Linked DNA regions of Homo sapiens: regions 2 and 3 are each linked to region 1. The links are contacts of gene promoters, found by promoter capture Hi-C in blood cells and fetal thymus (Javierre and others, 2016). All regions are on one chromosome and are shown on one strand. Each heading gives the region's core, a stretch centred on a gene start or on the middle of the fragment in contact. The rest is flanking DNA. Distances are from core to core; before and after follow the strand shown. Region 1 holds the start of LINC02881 (long intergenic non-protein coding RNA 2881). Region 2 overlaps TMEM72-AS1 (TMEM72 antisense RNA 1). Region 3 overlaps TMEM72-AS1 (TMEM72 antisense RNA 1).

The links. The method cuts DNA at HindIII sites, captures the fragments that hold promoters and counts their contacts. A CHiCAGO score of 5 or more calls a contact.
Region 2: a contact is called between a fragment that was not itself captured here and the fragment with the promoter of LINC02881 in region 1, in 3 of 17 cell types (M2 macrophages, M1 macrophages and M0 macrophages). The highest score is 6.9, in M2 macrophages.
Region 3: a contact is called between a fragment that was not itself captured here and the fragment with the promoter of LINC02881 in region 1, in 3 of 17 cell types (M0 macrophages, M2 macrophages and M1 macrophages). The highest score is 8.6, in M0 macrophages.

What each region holds. Positions count from the first base shown.
Region 1 is chr10:44,291,225-44,294,958 of GRCh38, reverse strand. LINC02881 (long intergenic non-protein coding RNA 2881) reads right to left here and starts at 2,209. Exons shown (of 3, transcript NR_164139.1): 1 at 2,026-2,209; 2 at 1,470-1,658; 3 at 310-1,046. LOC124902544 (a long non-coding RNA gene) reads left to right here. Exons shown (of 3, transcript XR_007062369.1): 3 at 5-1,045. The HindIII fragment of the contact is 4,267 bases long and covers 542-3,734 here.
Region 2 is chr10:44,836,026-44,839,398 of GRCh38, reverse strand. All of the region lies in intron 2 of TMEM72-AS1 (TMEM72 antisense RNA 1), which reads left to right. Among named protein-coding and RNA genes, the nearest start is that of TMEM72, 74 kb to the left of the region's middle. The HindIII fragment of the contact is 8,905 bases long and covers 1-3,373 here.
Region 3 is chr10:44,854,789-44,858,103 of GRCh38, reverse strand. The region is part of intron 2 of TMEM72-AS1 (TMEM72 antisense RNA 1); the gene reads left to right. Among named protein-coding and RNA genes, the nearest start is that of TMEM72, 55 kb to the left of the region's middle. The HindIII fragment of the contact is 4,983 bases long and covers 1-3,315 here.

The DNA of each region.
Region 1 (3,734 bases), core at 960-3,459:
CCAGGCCCCACAGAGGCATCCTTTCAGAAATGGCAAGCGCCGCCCCTCAGGATGGGGAGTGTACTGAGGCGGAGGTATTATGACGCATTGCCCAGGAACTGATTACAGCCTTTCTGAAAATATCAGAACAAACCAAAGTACTTTTTTTCTCTCACTCAACAACAATCAACACAGAAGACTTCTGTGACCAAATGTGTGGGTTTTCTCCCCACCACAAGCAAGAAGGCAGTTCTACATCGGACAATTCCAACATCGACACCTTCTACCTGGAGGTGGCCTCACACCCCACAAGCCCAAGCCTCATGTCCCAAGCCTGCCCTCCACTTCCAATGCCAATGGCAAGGTGGTCTTACCTGTGCTTCTGACCCACTGGCGTTCCCACGAATCAATGTTCCCAGGACGCCTCCTAACACTTGAATAATTCGCTAGAGCAGCTCACAGAGCTCAGGGAAAGGCCTACTTACATTTACTATAAAGGATGTTACAGAGGAGAGAGACACAGAGATGCCTGGGGCAAGACATATGAGGAGGGCGAGAAGCTTCCATGCCCTCCTGGGGCTGTCGAACTAAAACGAAGAAGCTGAAAGTTTTGCTCCAAATGCCATTGTTTATCCATTTTTGACCACCTGATCTGTTCCATTAGCTTCAAAAGATGCCTTTTCATTTGTTTCGTTTTGCCTTCGATGGCCTTCCGCCTGCCGCAAGCAACCCTCTAGAATATGGGCCTGTGCTTGGCTTTTCTACACAAACATGAGCAGCCTTCAATTACTGGGGGACATTCATTTCCTCCTTCCAACTAGAGAGCGAGGAGTGTCCCGGGGAGAGTGGGTCCTTGAGCTCCTCTGGGCCTTGCTTGGGACTTGGTCCAGGAGGTTATGGGAAGAAACTGGTTTAGAAGCTGACCTCATGGGTTCGCTATTCTTATGTAACACTTAGGAAGAGCAGAGACCCACGCGATTCAGTCCCAGAGCAATGTTGCGGTCAAGAGAACACAGTCCAGCTACCAACAGTTATTTCAAAATAATTCAAGCTCTTTGTTTATATTTCTGAAAGAAAGAAAGAAAAAAAAAGGGTGGCCCAGCTGGAAACTCGGCTTTAAGTCCCCTTTCAGGGGGCCCTCAGGTGGGCACCTGCTTGGAAACCTCTCCACCCCTCCAAACACCCTTTTCCTCTCTGAGTGTTCATTTGTTGATCCAGATTCTGAATAAATGAAGCCGTACAGAATCCACCTGGCAAAAATGGAAACTGCCTGGAGGCCAGGGCTGAGGGAAGGCCTGGAGCAGAGCCGGTGCGCGACCTCGCAGTGAGCAGGGAGGGCAGGCTGGGGACGTTCACCACCCAGAACGCCTCTGCTCCCCGCAACCCTGAGACTCCAGGCTCCCCTGTTCCTCCCTCCGGGAGACCCTGCCCGTCCTCCCCGCGGGGCTCCTTCGCAGTTCGGGGGAAGGGACGGGTTGCGTCCTCGGGACCTTTCTCTGCAGCCACAGCAGCGCATCCCAGCACCTCCTCCAGGAGCCCCGCCACCTCCTGCCACCCGGACTTTCCCCACAGCGCAGCGTCCCCTCGTCCTCTCAGGGCTGGAACAGCGGTACCCGCAGACAGTGCAAAAGGGAAGTCCCTGTTGCCTTCCCATGCAAACTGTAGGGCGCTTACAGCTGCTGGGAGAGGAAAGGAAAGAAGAAATACAGTGAGTGTGATATGGGTACAAAGAAACCAACACGGAGCTTCCGTGGGCCTAGAAAGGAGCCCCCAGGAGAAGTACACTGGGCCTGCGTCATCGCCTGCCTTCAGCGGGCTCCATCCTTCCCCAGGCCCCCCTCCCCACCCACCTCCCACCCGCGGTCCTCCCGAGGCCCCCCTCCCCGCCCCCCCTTCTCGCTTCCCCATCCCCCTCCCACCCGCGGCCCTCCCGAAGCCCCCCTCCCCACCTCCCCACCTCCATTCTTCGCCTCCCCAACCCCGCTCCGAGTCTCCCCGCCTCCCTATCCCGCCTCCCACCCGCGGCCCTCCCGACGCCCCCTTCACCTCCCCACTCCCGAGGCCCTCCTGAGGCCCCTGGGCTCCCGCTCCTCCGAGTTGCCTGCGGCCGAGTCCTGGCGCGGCCTGGGACTGCCTGTTGGGGGGAGGGGGTGGGGGGGGGTCGTTCCCAAAGAAGGGGAAGGAGGCCTTTCGTGAGCATCTGAGGAGTACATCCTCATTTTGTCTTCTCACTCTGTCCACCCAGAGCCTGTGACCCGGATCCAACCCGCGGCGCACAGACCCCGGCTCTGGGCACCCCTGGTGAGCGCCTTCTGCGCCAGAGCTCCGTACAGCACCAGCCCGCGCTCTCCCCCAGCTTCTGTTCATTTGCTGCAGTCCTGACGGGTCAGTTGCCTGAGCATCCATGCTGCCATCCATACAAACCCAGGCACGCAGAGATGTACATCCTTTACCCAGGGTGACACCATGTGGAGCTGAATCCAAGTCCGGGAGTCTGATGACCGTGTCTGGGCTCTGACCGCGCAGCCGTCTCACAGTGAAACAAATTGCGGACTGGCCTTGTCCTGAGTGGCCTTAGGAAGCTGCAGTGGCCTGCAGTCTCCTGGCCAGTCTGTAGAATTTGGCAAAGATGAGGCACCTTATAGCCTTACATGTTCTTATTTTTCTTTCCTTTTCTCTTCTTTATTTTCTTTTTTAAGGATTTGAATTAGTATATGTAAAGTGCTTAACGCAGGAGCTGGCAGAGAAAGTGGATACTCAGTAAATAACAGCAATTGTTAATTGTAAAAAGCATGCCACTTATCTGGTAAAATCCCCCATTCTAAGCACCCTGTTAAGTAGTTGGTAATTCCTCACTTGAAAGAAATTAAAAAGAATTTTTGTCAGTTTTTTAAAATATTGTTTTATTGTGATAAAATATTCATAACATAAATTTCACTCTTTTAATACTTTTTAAGTGTACAATGCAGATTAATAAGAGAAATGCATACAAATTTATTAACGTGTACACGGGAAAAATAAGGTGATTACCCAATATCCCATGAGGTCCAGATACTTATACAGCGTTTTTTCAGAGAGGAGGGTGGAAGGCGGAATGTAGGTGATTCTGTTGAGGGGCAATAAATTATTATTAAGGAGAATGAATGGGTCAAGAAACAGAGAGTTATTCGTAAATGGTTCTCTTTGAAAATTTAATAAGCTGGAGAAATGGATTATTTTTTTGAAAGCGTCTGTTCAGGTGTGGTCACGTGTTGGTTTTCTTTTCTGCAATAGATAATGAGATAAGAGGGAGGAGAAGGAAAAGTAATTGTTCTCTTTGGTGGGTCTGCAGGGTCTTCATGTAGATAAGGGAGAGGACTCTTCCAGCTTCTGTTGATCTTGAGGGACTTTAATTGAAAATACTCATACCAGGGAGCCATATTTTGGGGCCAAGTTCCCTGCGCTCCTTCAATCCTCCTGTTTGGAACTTCCCTAGAATTTCACATTATCAACAGCTGAATCAGTGATTATGGAGAGATTTGGGTTAGAGGAAAAGAAGGCAAAGAAGGGGAAAAAACAAATTGGGATAAGCAGAAAAGAAAAATAAATAAATATGTTGTCCCATATCTTCTTGAATCAGTCTCTTAGTCCTAAGAGTAGAAGCATTTGGTCAAACAGCTGTGTCCATTCTAGGAGGTGGCACTACAGAGGGGCTGGGCTTCTACAGCTGATGCAGGCAAGCTGGTCTTTAATAAGAGGCATTTCTATGGAAACAA
Region 2 (3,373 bases), core at 752-3,251, 540 kb before region 1:
GAGGCAAAGGAAAAGAAACACAGGAAACATCCATCAGGTCATATTTAATGCTGAAAAGTTCTGACGCAGTTTGACTTCATGGTGCTAATGACAGATTTAAATGGAACTGATGCACATGGATCTGAAAGTCGAATTTTCTCTGTTTCTGGAAAATTAACATGCGTCTTTAGAGGCATGATCTGTCCTCACACCCGGGAAGACATGAATGAGATATCTAAAGCAGCACTCAATAGGATAACCAGGAAAGCCACAGGAGGGCTAGAGAATCGGCTAGTGGAGTTGAAAGCCACATCAAATGGTTAGAACTTAGTTACTAGTGTGTAATCTCTTGGATAAGAGATGTCTAAATCCAGAAGAACCAATGCCAGAGGTGAAGCCCGTCCATCCATCCATCCATCCATCCATCCATCCATCCATCCAGGTAAACCTGATGGGATCCATAGAAAAACAAGAGGCAGCAGCATGTTTTCCTGCACAGGGAAGCTGGGTTCAAGACTTATGCCAGTCAAGCAGCCTGGAGGTCTGAAGTGTCAACCTGGGGAAAGAAGGAAAGTGTGGAAAAGACAAGGGAAGGCCGGGCACAGTGCTGTAATCCCAGCACTTTGGGAGGCCGAGGCGGGTGGATCACCTGAGGTCAGGAGTTCGAAACCGGCCTGACCAACATGGTGAAACCCCGTCTCTACCAATAATACAAATTTAGCCAGGCATGGTGGCGCATGCCTGTAATCCCAGCTACTAGGGAGTCTGAGGCAGGAGAATCATTGGAATCTGGGAGGCAGTAGTTGCAGTGAGCCGAGATTGCACCACTGGACTCCAGCCTGGGCAACAAGAGGGGAACTCCGTCTCAAAAAAAAAAAAAGACAAGGGAAAAACTTGAGGGCCCTCAGCTTATGGTGGAGGGAAATGAAAAGGGGAGAGGGAGTGTGTGCTGAAAGCCTTCTTAGCCCTGGCCATCCTGGAATGTACCCTTATCTGGCATGAGGATAACTCCTTGCTCTGAATCAGATCCCAGCGTCTCTGCACTAGGACCCCAGCTGGTCCGGGAGCACACGAACAGCCATCATCTCCTTTGCTTCCCACCTCCACATTTTCTTATATGCCATGCGTTCTTTAAACAATTCTTTCTACAAGATTTTCTGTGTCTTCAGAGAATGCTGCTTGAATGTTGCTAGAGTTTTTATTCATTTCTTATTTAATGTGATATATTAACAGAATGTCTTATAGGAGGGCAATGAAGGACTAGGGAACAAAGGAGTGACACAGAAATGAGAAAAGTTTGAAAGGTAATGTCAAAAAAACCTCCCAAAGTCAATGAAAAATCTATGTCCTTATAAATGAAGCAATTACACTAATTGAAGGATACAGATCTGAATAAATGAATAGACCAAGCATGTTCCTGAATGGGAAGACTCAATAGTGAAGACATTGGTTCTCCCAAATCAGTGGATGTTATTTTGTCTCAGTGCTAATCCAGTGCTGCTTCTCCTGGTTTCTTCTTATAGGTCATTATTTATATGAAAACTTACTCAAGTACTGTATCTTTATATATTTATTAGCCATCAGTACCTTTTACTATGAATCTAATGTTCATACATTTTGCTTATATGTTTATATTGTTTGTCTTATTTTTTTGGTAGGATTTCCATATATATTCTGGGAATTATTACTGTTCATTCTTGTTGTAAACATTTTCCCTGCCTGTAACTCTGCCACTTATCTTTATACTTTGTTCATGGTGTCTTCTGTCATACAGAACTCTTAAGTTTTATCTGGGTTCAAGTGATTCTCATGCCTCAGCCTCCCGGGTAGCTGGGATTACAGGCATGCGCCACCATGCCTGGCTAATTTTTGTGTTTTTAGTAGAAATGGGGTTTTGCCATGTTGGCCAGGCTGGTCTTTAACTCCTGACCTCAAGTAATCTACCTGCCTTGGCCTCCCAAAGTGCTGGGACTATAGGCATGAGCCACCACACCCGGCCATTTCCTTCTTTTTATTTATAATTCATCAACAACGTGCCTTGTTCAGCAAGGATTCTTCCACCTTTATAAGTTTGTATTTAAAAAATTCCTATATGTACTTTTATTCCACTGGAAGTTTTATATTTATCCTTTTATTCTAGCTAGAATTCATATTTGCATATTGGTCAAAGAGGGAACTGACTTTATTTTCTCTTGTAATTGTATTGCTGGCTTACAGCAGTTTATTTATTTATTAATCATAACTCACCCTTTCCCCACAGTTTTGATATACCGTTTTGATATACCATTTTAAAAACACAGTATATATGGACTCATTTCTACTGCTTTTCTGCTTCATCGGTTACTTAACAATTCCTCCATCAGTATTGTTTCAAAATATATTCTGATATCTGAAACAGCAAGCCTGTTTTCATAATTATTCTTTCTCAGAATTTTATTGGTTATACTTATGTGTTTCCTAGAAGAACTTTAGAATCACCTTGTCACATTTTATAAATCATCCTTTGAGAATCTTGGTTTGAGTGTAATAAATCTCCTAACTGATTTGGTAGAACTGATAATTTTACAGTATGGGGGATTCTCAGCCAGAAACGATTTGTTTCTCATTGATTCAGGTATTTTATAGTTTTTCAAGAATGTATGATTGTTTTATTTATATATGCCATAAACATTTCTTATTAGTTTTTAGGAGTCTTATGGGCTTATGAAATTTGTAAAGGAGGACTTTTTTTCTATTTATTTTTTACTACAAAATATTAATTTCTGTATGGCATTCTTATTAATCACCCATCTCCCTGAATTCTATTACAGTTTTATTTAGTAAGTTATTTGTCTTGGTATTCTAGGTATATAATCCTTTCAGTTGAAAACATAGAATTTTCTCTTTTGTTTTCAAAATCATAGCTTTGCTTTATTTTTCTTAACTTACTCTATTATATGAAACCTCTGTGCAATGCCACACAGTAGCAGTGATTACAGAATTATCTTATGCCTGACTTTGTCATATTTTCTAACCCCTACAAACTGAACCAATATTCAAGAATCTTAGTTCTAGTTCCATCTCAGTTGCCGCTCTTTGTTAGTTTCAGTGTATTTATAAAATAAGGAAATTGAATTCTCTGAGCTCTTATTTTCCTTCCAGTTCATGTATTATGTGATTTAACAGATAGGCATGACAACAAAGATTAGCTTTTAAATGTGAAAATGGGAACAAAATAGGGCCTAATTTATTTATAATAAAATGGAATCTATTTGATAACCAGGTTACAATTTACCTACAAGATTTGAAAAGTTAAGAAAACCCACCAGTTGGAGATGTAAATCCCAAGAGAGGTCTTCACCCTTCTTGAAAGCTCATATGCCAGAGAAACTAATGATTTGATCAAGAGAGTTTT
Region 3 (3,315 bases), core at 172-2,671, 560 kb before region 1:
CCTTGCCCTGCTGAATTCATGGGATTCTTTTAAGAGCCCAGCAGTGGTAGATGGGAAGTTCTTTGTAAACGGAACCATGCTGGGACCACTTGCCCTTTTATTCAGGGTCCTGACTTTTCCTTCCTGGCCCTGCGGTCCCCCTGCAGTGCACTCTCCTGACCCTAGGTGGCAGCAGCACCTCGGCTCCCCTCAAGGGAGGCCTGCTGCGGATGGAGGCTAAGGTCAGGATGCAGCCTAATTAGCTGAACAGTTTGCAGCCCTGCTCAGCAAAGAAACCCCTGGGGTGCGGGAAGAGAGTGACTCACATTCTTGTTTCCTTGATAAAGGAGAATGTTTTGAGAGTCATTCTAGCGTTGCAGTCTGGGGTCACACCATCCAGACACTTGGCTTCTCTTCCTTCCCCAGCATCCCTCAAGACCTTTTTTTTTTTTTTTAAATCCTCACTCCCCCCAACCCCCCTCAAATGCACCAATAGGCTCAGTCAGAACAAGGGCTCAAGAGTCTGCCCGAATAAAGACTCTTCTGTGTCCACAGGCTCAATGTGAGCATCCCTGTCCACACCCGGGCCTGGCCAGACCCAAGGGCTTTCTTACAAGATGTGTGAAACGTCAGCATTGAAAGGGCTGGGCAGAGCATCTAGTCTAATGGGAATTTGACAGGGGTAAACTGTGCCTGAGAACCCAAAAGAGGCAGGGAGGGAATGAGCATTTCCTGATCACCTGCAGCGTGCAAGCCCTGTGTGAGGTGTCGGTATACCTGCTCACTCTTCTAGAACAGCCGTAGGATGGGGTAGGTGAGGGAGGTGGGTTTCAAATGGAAAAAATGGCTGCACAAGAGAACACAAGTAGCTTCAAGATGAGAGTAGCTCAGTTCATTCATGGATTTATTTTTCCTGCAAATGTTCACCCTGGTGTGTTTCAGTGCCCAGGCCTGGGGACATCCCAGCTGACCCCTGCAGCTGGGGGCTCTAGTCAGGCCCACTGTCATGCCTCTGGTGGCTCAAGGGTGCACCTGGTCCCGTAATGCCTCCCAGGTCGGCCACACCTCTCAGAAGATACCATTCCTCACCTTCCTCGTGTGCTGGTTCCTCTCCTTCTGACTTTGGTTCTTCAGCCTCAGCTTATCTCTTCCTCCCCAGAGCTGGTGCTGACTTGAGCCCCCATGGCCTTGCCTTGGAAAATATGACAATGACTGTAAATGTTTGGCCGCAGAACTGTTCTTTCACGGGGCCACAAAAGAACGTGTGGCCTCCTGATAATGCCCACGGCTGGTGCAGGCTTGGGGAAGGAGGCCTCTTGCAGAACCAACCCTATAGATGCTGTAGCACCACTGACCCCTTGCACATACATATGCTGCTGACTAGCTCTTGGCCTGAGAAACTTCATTCATTAACATCTTTCCCAGGGCACCTGTGTCCCCTTGGAATCTGGTTTATCTCCAGACAGAAAAACACATGGTTCCTGTTTTCCTCAGGCAGCTCCTGGTTCCATACTGGTCATTGCATGGAAGGTTGAACAGGAGGATTGCCTAATTCTGTGCATCTGAATGAGAGCACAGGCCCATCCAGGAGGTCTGCCGCAAATGCAAAGTGCTTGTCACATTACAGGCAATCAGTGAAAGGAAGCTGCCTCATGGTGTCAGCATGGGTTGCATGTCTTATAAATATACATTGGATCTCTCGCAACAAAGGCTCTGTAGAGTTTGAAGGGACGTGGGAGGGATCTAGTTTTGACTTCTGATGGTGGAACATCGGGCATCAACGTGACAAGGCACTTTGGGCAAGGGGGCTTGTTCTCTTCATCTCTGTGAGAGATAATTGCCATCTTTGGTGTTCATCATTCATTTGTCCACTTAATTCTGCTGGCTGAACCTGGAATGACACCACACGCTGGAGACAGCTTGATGAACAGAACAAGACATGGCTCCCAACCTTGCCCTTTGTTGTCTGATGGAGAGCAGGGAAGCAAAGAAGGGAATAGGAGGCTGAGAGGTGAGGCTGGGCCATGTAAGGCCTTCTGGGCTATGTGAAGGATTTGCATCTTTAGCTCAAAAGCAATGTGAAGTGTTTGAAGGGATTTTAGGAGGCGAGTAATACAATCAGGTTTGCATTTCACTATTAAGTAGATGAGTTGGATGGAGGCTTCCAGATCTGGAGGCCTGGAGAATATTGGTCCAGGCAAGGATGGTGGCACACAGGAATAAGGCAGTGAGGGTGGAGATGGAAAGAGTGAACAGATTTGAGAGATGTTTAAGAAGCTAAAAGTGTAACCTGCTCCCGCCAGAGTATCTGTTCAACCAATGGCAAAATCAACTCAATGGATTACATACTGGTCCTGGGATCCTGTGTTTCAACCTCCTTGTTGTACAAGAGATAGTTTGTAGGTCTGAGGGCAAAGGAACTTCTGGGGGCCCACAGCAAGTGAGATGCAGAGCCAGGGCCGAGACTGGTGTAAACGCATGGGAACCACACTGGGGACTCACAACAAAGCCCAGTGCTGGATGAGGTCCTCTCTAGGCCTCTCCCTAGGGATACCTGGGTCCTCTCCTTTCCTCTCCCTGGAGCAAGCCCCATTACCCCATCAGGGAGAGGAAAGGATAGGATCCAGGTCTCCAGCCTCCAGAGACATCTGCTTACCAGGGGACCCGGGGAGTGAGGAAGAGTATAGGAGCAAGCATGGAGTGGGGCCTCTGCTCAGGCCCTGTCCCTTCTTTCATGGCGCCTACAGCACATCTTTCAGCAAAGGATGCGACAGGCAGCAGGGTGGGGAATCTGAGAACAACCAGGCATTTGATGCCTCTGGGGGCAGGGCAGATAATGAGATGCAGGCATGAGCCCAGGGGGCTGTTTGCGGTCCAGTCTGCCCTCCTTCTTGGCACTGAGGCCAGACTTAAAGGTCAGGAGGACGTCAGACCCTCTCATCTGGGGCTCTCCTGGCAGCCCCTCCCCTCTGCACTCCTCTTCCAGCCCCTGCACGCTTCTGCCGCACCAGCTTCAATGCCTCTATTGTGGCGGCAGCTGCAGCGCTGGGGGCTCTGGCCCTCTCTCCCTCTTCTCCCCTCCTGCAGGCCCCCATGGGTGGGGAGCTGAGCAGCTCCTTCCTATTTTCTGTACCCTCAGGCCCAGAACTCCTGGTTTCTGGTCACCCTCCTCATTCTGGGCAGGTGGCTGCTGGTGACCCGGCTCCAGCTCCCTCTCCCGCCTTTTCTGGGTGGATGCCCTGAGTGACACAGGAAAGTTTCCCAAAGCAGGTGGACTCCTGGGGCCACCGGGACCTGCTCTCTCCCTCCACAGGAGATTCCTGTCTGTAGATCTTG